Regions from separate parts of the Homo sapiens genome. Here all the other regions are linked to region 1. The links are contacts of gene promoters, found by promoter capture Hi-C in blood cells and fetal thymus (Javierre and others, 2016). All regions are on one chromosome and are shown on one strand. Each heading gives the region's core, a stretch centred on a gene start or on the middle of the fragment in contact. The rest is flanking DNA. Distances are from core to core; before and after follow the strand shown. Region 1 holds the start of MUC5B (mucin 5B, oligomeric mucus/gel-forming). Region 2 has its middle 10 kb from the start of MOB2. Region 3 has its middle 38 kb from the start of DUSP8.

Region 1 (2,709 bases), core at 86-2,585:
CGCCATCCTATTGAGCGTGAGACAGGTCAGAAGCTTTGAAGATGGGCTTTCGTCTTGTCCCAGAAATCCCACCTCTAAGAATTTAACTTCAGAAAGACAAACGCGGGGGAGCTGGTGCAGGGCCCGTGACGGGGACTGTGACGTAAATAAAACAACAGACCTGGACACCACCCTAGGGTCCCCATGGGGCCGGACGAGGCCACACCACCCGACCTGGTGCTTCCTGCCTGGCGTCTGCGCCACGGAGCATTCAGGACGCTGGTGACCAGGGAGCCAGGAGGTGGGAGCATCTGAGGTGCAGGTCACACGGGCAGGAGGTGTTTGCAAGAGGTATTGCAGCGCGGACGGAGTGTCCTGCAGATGACGCTGTCTGTCCTGTAGATGACGCTCGTCAAGGAGGTTTACCACATAGCCCCCAGGAAGCCCACCCGACACCAGCCGGAGGTGCTAGGCTTCTGCGGCTCCCACCTGGGGCAGGCGGAGGACCCCGGGCAGGTCCAGGACCCCCCGGAGCAGCTGCTTCCTCAACCCTGCCAGGGTTAATGAGGAGGCCCCAGAGTGAGGTGGAGGCCAAATGGGACTCAGGGCCGGAGCCTCTGGCCTGGCTGGATCAGGGCTGGCATTGGACAAGCGCAGCTGACTCCCGATGTGCATGGCCAGGAGACACTCTGGGCCTCAGTTTCCCCTTGAATGTGAACCTTGAAACAGATCAGCCCAGAGACCTCCCACGGTCTTCAAGGGGCTCTGGTCAGCTGGGCTGGGGTCTCTGGAAATAGAGCCTCCTCCAGGGACCCCCACAAGCCACCCAGACTGAGCATCCTGGCCATGTGCATGCCTGAGCTCAGCAGGAGCCTCCCGGCCTCCCCGTGGGCTAAGCAGTGGTGGGAGGGGAGCTCCAGCCTCGTGGGCCCTCCCCGGGCCTCGGGGACCCATGGTCAGTGGCTGGGGGTGCTGCCCAGAGGCTGGGATTCCCTTCCAGCAGGAGCCGCAGTGGGGCTGAGTGTGAGGCAGGCTGGCTGACCACTGTTTCCATGGACCCTGCGTCCAAGGCCAGCCCTGCCTTCCAGCGGCTTTGCCATCTAGGACGGGTGCCAGGTGGGGTAGGCCCTTCTCTCCCTTCCGATTCTCAGAAGCTGCTGGGGGTGGGGGCGTCCTGGGCCTCAGGGCACAGAGCTGCAAATCCTTCCTGATCCAGGCCTCTCCCCTGCCACAGCCCCTCCCCGAGAGCAAACACACGTGGCTGGAGCGGGGAAGAGCATGGTGCCCTGCGTGGCCTGGCCTGGCTTGGGGCCAAGGCTCCCTGCTACATAAGCTGGGGCCCCCAGGGGAGCAAGCACCCGGCCCGGCTCCCTCCCTGCCCGTCCCCGTCCCCCCACCCGTGCCAGCCCCCAGGATGGGTGCCCCGAGCGCGTGCCGGACGCTGGTGTTGGCTCTGGCGGCCATGCTCGTGGTGCCGCAGGCAGGTAAGAGCCCCCCACTCCGCCCCCTCTCGATGCTGTCTTCACGGCGGGGGTCTCTGCAGGTCGCTTGCCTGGGAGCTTCTCCTGCAGAGTGCACGGGCAGATCCCCCTACGACTCCCTGAGTGTCCTGGATGGGACCCTACCCGTCCCCAACACAGGGCTCTGGGGCCCCACGGGCTCACAGTGTCAGGAAACTCAGGGGCTGGCTTGGATGGGGTGTCCAGGAGAAGGTGGGCCCCTGACCGCAGGGCAAGGCCCCTGGGAGACCACCGAAAGGGTCTTGGTCTTGGGGGTGGGACAGGAGTGGGCAATGGGGGAGGGGGTCACAGCTGGGGGTCTCTCTGGAGCCCCATGAGGCCCAGGCATCAGAGTGAGCAGGGGCAGGCTTAGCGTGGACCCCTGTCCAGGACCGGCTCTACCCTTCACGACCTCCCTGGGGATCACAGCTGGCAGGGCAGGTGAGGGTACCACCCTCAAGGGTTGCACAGCCAGCCGCAAGAGCCCCGGCCTCAACCCACGCTCGACTCCCACGGCCCATCTGTGGGCATCTCATGCCGCACGGGCTGCCTGGCTCTCAGCCGAGCGTTTTCCCTCGTCTGCTGTCTCTTGGCCAGAGCCGCAGCATTAATACTTACTGTCAATAGAGAAAGATGCAGCCCCAGGGGCCACCGGGAGACACCCAGCCGGGCTGGCCATGAGGCTGCTGCAGCCCCTCCCTGCCCCGCCCTCCACCCCCTCCCAAGCTTGGGGTCTGGGCTGGGCAGGTGAGGCTCCCTGGGGTCTCTCTCCATCTGTGGAAGGGAGGCTGGGTGGTCAGCAGGGCTGGAGGCAGGGGGCTTCCCCCAGTGGCTCCCAGCCTGGGCCCGGGGGGAGCTGCGTCTGGCTGCAAGGTTTGGGGGCTGGTTTGACCAGAATAGCCACCTCCTTGCATCTGATTCTTCCGGGCCATGCAGCCTTGGCTCCCCTCACCTGAGCAGGCAGGGCCTAGGGACTCTCAGCCCACCCGTCCTCCTGTCCTCCACGCACGTCCAAGTTGGGGAGATCAAGCCCTTGGCAGGGACTGTGCTTTAGTCACCAGATGCACGTCCTGTGGCCGGGGAAGGCAGCCCTGCACAGAGCAGCTTCATGTTAGGGGACACACCCCAAAGTGATGGGGTGGCTGGTGGTGGGCACTTCTCTGGCTACAAGATGGAGGCCCAGGTGGTCCAGCCCAAGGAGGGCACTGCACGGAGCAGATAACCAAGGGCA
Region 2 (2,700 bases), core at 196-2,695, 270 kb after region 1:
ATCCCTACCTCACACCAAGACGGATCAGAAACTCAGACATAAAAGCAAAACTACAATGCTTCTACAATAAAACACGGACAGTATCTGTGCCAAGCTCAAAGTAGGCAAAGATTTCCTAGAATGTAAAAAGCACTAACCAAAAAGTGACAAAATACATTTCATCAAAATTTAATCATACACACACTTCTATTCAATATACTGTTAAGAAAAATGAATAGGCAAGCCACGGATGGCATATATCCAACAAAAGACTTCTAGCTAAACTATAGAAAGCAGGTCTACAGTTCAACAATAAAAGAGACAACTCAACATTTAAAAAGGGCAAAAGACTGGAACAGACATTTTACATAAGAAGACAAATAATGGCCGATAAGTACAAGAGCAAGTGCCACGCCTTCCAGAATGGCTAAACCTGCACAGACTGAGAACACCCAAGGTGTGGAGGAGGCAGGAACCAGGAGACTGATGCGCTACAGGCAGGGCGAGGAACTACTGAGGAAAAAGCCACAACTACTGAGGAAAAGGGCTGGCAGTTTCTTGGAAAGTTAAATATGCATGTAGGATTCCATAATTCCATGGCTAAGTACTGACCCAAAAGAAACAAAAACATACATCCACATAAAGGCTCCTACAAGAACGTTCACAGCAGCAGTGTTCACAATAGCCAGAAACTGGAAACAACCCAAAGTCCATGAACAGAAGAACAGCTCAACAAACGACAGTATATTCATACAACAAAACACCACTCAGCAACCCAAAGCATAAAACCACCACCAAGATGCAATGCACAGCTAAGCCCCACAGATGTGATGTCAGTGGGAAAACGCCAGAGACAAGAGCGGGGACCATCAGACTCCATGTATCTGATGTTTAGAAAAGGCCCAATTAGTCCTTGATGAAAATAAATCAGACAGTGGCTGCCTGTTGGGAGGGGAGGTGGCAGGCAAACAGGGCTGACTGGTAAGGCATGTGGTGGTGTTTTCCGGGAAGACGGAAACATTTTGCATCTTGACAGGGGTGTGGGCTACAGGGGAATTCATATTCATCAAAACTCACTTAACTGAATACTTGAGATCCGTGCATTTCATTGTTTGTAAATTATATGTCAACTTCTGAAAAACTAAAAGTTTCTACAAAGGAGGAAAGAGAGAAAGCATTTAAGAGAAAATGGCAGACAAAATTAAAGGGAAAAAACACTTGCAACTACATATGGAAAAGGCACATGTCACCTCAGACCAACTCACACCAAGGCGTTCTAGTAATATTACTAGACTTATGACGAACAGAAAGTCCTTTGATAAAAGGTAAGTTTGCATACAAAGGAAAGAAAATTGTATTTCCATTAGACACCAGTAACACTTTAAATCAAAAGGCTATTGTCATGGATGGAATTCCCACGAATTCACAGGTTGAAGCCCGTACCCCCAGTGTTGTGATGCTATTTGGAGATGGCACCACTGGAGGTAATCAGGGTTAGATGAAGTCATGAAATAGGGTGGGGCCCCCCAGATAGGATTACTGGCCTTATACTGAGAGGAAGGTTCTAGGCAGAGGTCAGCAGTAGCTGCAAACAACACAAAAAGACAACGAGATATTATGCACCTCCTGTGGTGGAACACAGCCACCAGCGGAGCCAACTGGCCTCCAAAGAAGAATGAGAATGCGATCAAGGTCTAAATCTAGCTGCCAATTTACAGGAAATAAAAAGAATGTTCTAAACAATACCACAGCATGCAATTAGCAAAATTCAGACCCTGGGAGACATCACAGGAAGAGCAGGCAGGCTCCACTAACAAAGTAAGTGGATGGGAAAAAAAACAAACAGGAAGGGTGGAGTGGATCCAGAGACATGGGGCGGAGCCTGCAGCCTGGTCACCACTCGGCACCTGTGCCCATCACCTCTGGTCCAATGTCGCGCTCCAGTGTGTAAGGTGCTGTCCCTGTAGGGGCTAGCTGAGGGTGGCCCTGGAATTTGTGCTATTTTTGCAACTTCTTATGAATTTATAATGATTTCAAAATAGAAAGTTAAAGAGTTTCAAAATCTGTCATCCAAGTGCAACGCATGGACCTTATTTGAATCCACATTCAACACTCTAAAAACAAGTCATGAGACACCAGACAAACATAAAGGCTTGATACTCAATGTTATGAAGAAATCACTACTTTTGGTATGATAATGAAACATCTTATGTTTAAGGAAAAGAATCCCTCTCCTTTACAGACATACAGAATAGTCACGGATGAAACATGTTCAGAATTTCCTTCAAAATCATCTGGGTGATGCGGGAAAATTACAGCTGAGGTGGGTGTGGCTTTGAACACACGTACCCACCAAAATCACTCACCCTTCTTTTAAAATCAGTTCATGAATCCAATCTCTATCAAAGACATGCACAGAATTTCTCCAGAGAGAAGCTGCCCCGTGAACACTCCAACTAGTCTTTTCCCTAACAACAGCTTTCCATCGGTTCTCCCGGCTCCTCGGAACAGCAGAGCTACCTGAGCTTAGCGATTTATACTCCATCGCAGCGTCGCAGCCGTGGTGGGGGCATCATGGGGCCACAACGGAAGAGCTCTACGGTCAGGTGTGGCTCGAGGATGTGAGCTCTTCTCAGCAAGGGTGCATGCACAGCACTGCTGGCTCACAAAACTCATGTGCATGTGTGCATGTGTGTGTGTATGCATGTGCACGTGTGCCTG
Region 3 (2,843 bases), core at 282-2,781, 310 kb after region 1:
CGACTGTGGCCACAGTCCACAGGCCAAGCAGTGCCACAGATCACACGTGGCCTGGAAGCCCTGCCCACCATCTCCTTCTTTTCTCTTTAAGCTTCCACATTTTGTTTGTTCCAATTGTTTCTACTTCCACTGAACACCAATGGGTGTGCCCCAGCCAGGAGAAATCCTGTGCAGAAAAAAACAAACATGGTGAAGGCAAAGAATGGGAGGCTCTTCTGGCCAAAGACAGACGGGAACAGCACACGCCCTTCCCTTCCAGACAGGTCTAGCACTGGCAGGAGGCTGCACAAGCAGTAATCACCACGGAGAAACAAAGGCCACGGCCCTGTGGCTCCCAACCAGCACTAAGTGGCCCTAACAAAAGTTGCAGTGGGCCCTGGTGTTTCTAACCCAGACCGCTGTGTGGACAAAGGAGAAACACTGGGGTGACAGGGGCATGGCACAGGGGTCCTCCCTCACAGTGGCCTCAACACCCCTCCTCCCGTACCGGATGACCGCAGCAGAGACCACAGCTTCCTCTGGAGAGGGGGTCTGGTGGTACACCAAGCCCCTGCTCGATCTGACAGCAGCACTTGGCAGGCAGACCCCTAGGGTGGCTGGCTTTCCCAGGGCTGGGAAGAGGCCCTCATGAGCCAGGACACAAGGGTGGCACTTGGTGGTGGCAAAGGTGGGGGCTGCGCTGTCTCAGATACACTCGTGATGAGAAACGCAGCCCTGCTGTCTACCAGCCCCCGACCAGGGGAGGCCGTCTGCAGCTCCCCTGGTGGGCTCACCCCCAGCTTCAAGGACACTTGTGCAAGGGTTCCTAGTAGTCAGTCCGAGCAGGAGAAATGGGAGGGGTGTCGCTAGGGGTTTACGGGGAGGCTCATTCTAAAAAGGGCTCCATGTATCCACGACCACTGCTTTTTTTTTTTTTTGAGATGGAGCCTCACTCTGTCACCCAGACTGGAGTGCAGTGGCGCCATCCCCACTTACTGCAACCTCCACGTCCCGGGTTCAAGTGACTTTCCTGCCTCAGCCTTCCGAGCAGCTGGGATTACAGGCACACGCCACCACGACCGGCTAATTTTTTGTATTTTTAGTAGAGACGGGGTTTCACCGTGTTAGCCAGGATGGTCTCAACCTCCTGACCTCGTGATCCGCCCGCCTCGGCCTCCCAAACTGCTGAGACTACAGGCGTGAGCCACTGCACCTGGCCGACCACTGCTCTTTTTAAGGTTAATTTGGAAACGGGAGGGATGATGGAAAACTTTTTTTTAAAGAAGAGGACTCTGAATGCAACACCACCCTAGGCAAACACCTCTGAAACCCAGGCCTAAGAGTGCCCTGGTGGAGCCCTGATGGAAAGAGGCTATTCCTGAAACCAGACCTTCCAGGGCTGCCCGCTGGAGATACAGCAGACCTGGGCCAGCCGGCTTCTCTGCTCACACCTCCGCATGTGCTGCTGCTTCTTCCTGGGCCACCTCCTTCCTCCTTCCCTCTTGGAAAAGCCCTTCATACCTGCTCTAACCGAGCCCCCTGCTTTTGGCCGCACTCACCCACTCCTCAATTCTCCTGCTGCCTGGGGCCCTTCTCTACCAGCCTGACAGCTCTAGGAAAGCGGGAATGGCTGTGTCTCCATCTCTGGACCTCCGCCCCAGCACAGAGCCTGGTACACGGCAGCCCATGAACTCAGGAATCTGGGGCCCCCGGCTGAGGAACAGGCCCAGCTCACTGTCCTAAAAGTCACAGTCACAAACCGCGGATCAGTGGTGGAAGGAGAGTGGCAGATGCACATCTCCCCAGGACGGAATTGCACTTGGTGATGAAGAGGACGGAGCTGCAGACACACGCAACGCCATGGATGGACGTTCGCAACACTGCGCCGCATAGGACAGGCACACAGCCCGTGTACTGGGATTCCATTTGCATGATTCAGCTCACCCACACAGATGGCGGGAGACTGGTGGCCGCCTCGAGGCTGGAGGTGGGGATGGGGAGCAGTGCCAGTGGACATGAGGCTTCTCTGGGGCATGATAGCAAAGTTCTCAAATTAAACTGTGGTGATGGTTACTCAGCCCTGTAATTTTACCAAAAATTATTTAATTGCAAACTTAAGTTAACTTTATGGTATGTAAATTATACCTCAATGAGGCTGTTAAAAGAACTCTAGAGATTCAAGCAAGTTCAGCCTGGGTGTCCTCATAATCAGAATCAATTGTCAACCACCAGTAACATCCTCCCATGCGGCAAAGAAAAGAAAGAAGAAAAACAAGGTCATCATCACTCCATTCACATTCCTGCAGAGACACACACTCACGAGATTTTATCTCGGTCAGAGAGGAGGACCCCTGAAGGCAGCTGGGAGAGCCAAGTTAGTAAGCACAAGCTAGCAGCCCCAAAGAGGCCCTCCCCACTCACCTGCAGTCTGTCTTCAATCAGAGCTGAGTCAGTAAGCACAGGCCAGCGGCCCCAGAGAGGCCCTCCCCATTCACCTGCAGTCTGTATTCAATCACCAGCACTGTGGTGCCACAGCCCGAGCCCGCTAACCCACAGTTCACCTGCTGCTTGGAGAGTAACCAGGGCACTGGTGTCAAGGCACCGTGCGGCCTCAGAAGGAGCCAGGAGAGCCCCAAGGAAGGGTGCCTGAGATACGTGCCCCCTTGCCCTGGCTGTGGCCAGCCAGAGAAGGTGCCTGGAGGAGAGGGGCCTTTCCCCACAAACTCCACCACACTGGGCCCTGTGCAGGGCCAGCAGGAGGGCGGCTACATTCCCATCAGTCGGGAGGGGAGGAAGTGTGTTTCCTCTCCTGTATTCCCAGATGCTCAGCTGCTCCTGGGCTGTGCGTTCCGTTGGGTAACACT

Evidence for each region. The method cuts DNA at HindIII sites, captures the fragments that hold promoters and counts their contacts. A CHiCAGO score of 5 or more calls a contact.
Region 2: a contact is called between a fragment that was not itself captured here and the fragment with the promoter of MUC5B in region 1, in 1 of 17 cell types (M0 macrophages). The highest score is 5.7, in M0 macrophages.
Region 3: a fragment that was not itself captured here is called in contact with the fragment with the promoter of MUC5B in region 1 in 1 of 17 cell types (M0 macrophages); the score reaches 5.1 in M0 macrophages.

Annotation. Positions count from the first base shown.
Region 1 is chr11:1,221,731-1,224,439 of GRCh38, forward strand. MUC5B (mucin 5B, oligomeric mucus/gel-forming) reads left to right here and starts at 1,336. Exons shown (of 49, transcript NM_002458.3): 1 at 1,336-1,463. The coding sequence starts at 1,394. RefSeq lists enhancers at 1,177-1,874, 1,875-2,570, 2,571-2,709. The HindIII fragment of the contact is 2,171 bases long and covers 32-2,202 here.
Region 2 is chr11:1,495,916-1,498,615 of GRCh38, forward strand. No RefSeq gene overlaps it. Among named protein-coding and RNA genes, the nearest start is that of MOB2, 10 kb to the left of the region's middle. The HindIII fragment of the contact is 5,700 bases long and covers 1-2,700 here.
Region 3 is chr11:1,532,968-1,535,810 of GRCh38, forward strand. No RefSeq gene overlaps it. Among named protein-coding and RNA genes, the nearest start is that of DUSP8, 38 kb to the right of the region's middle. The HindIII fragment of the contact is 2,884 bases long and covers 90-2,843 here.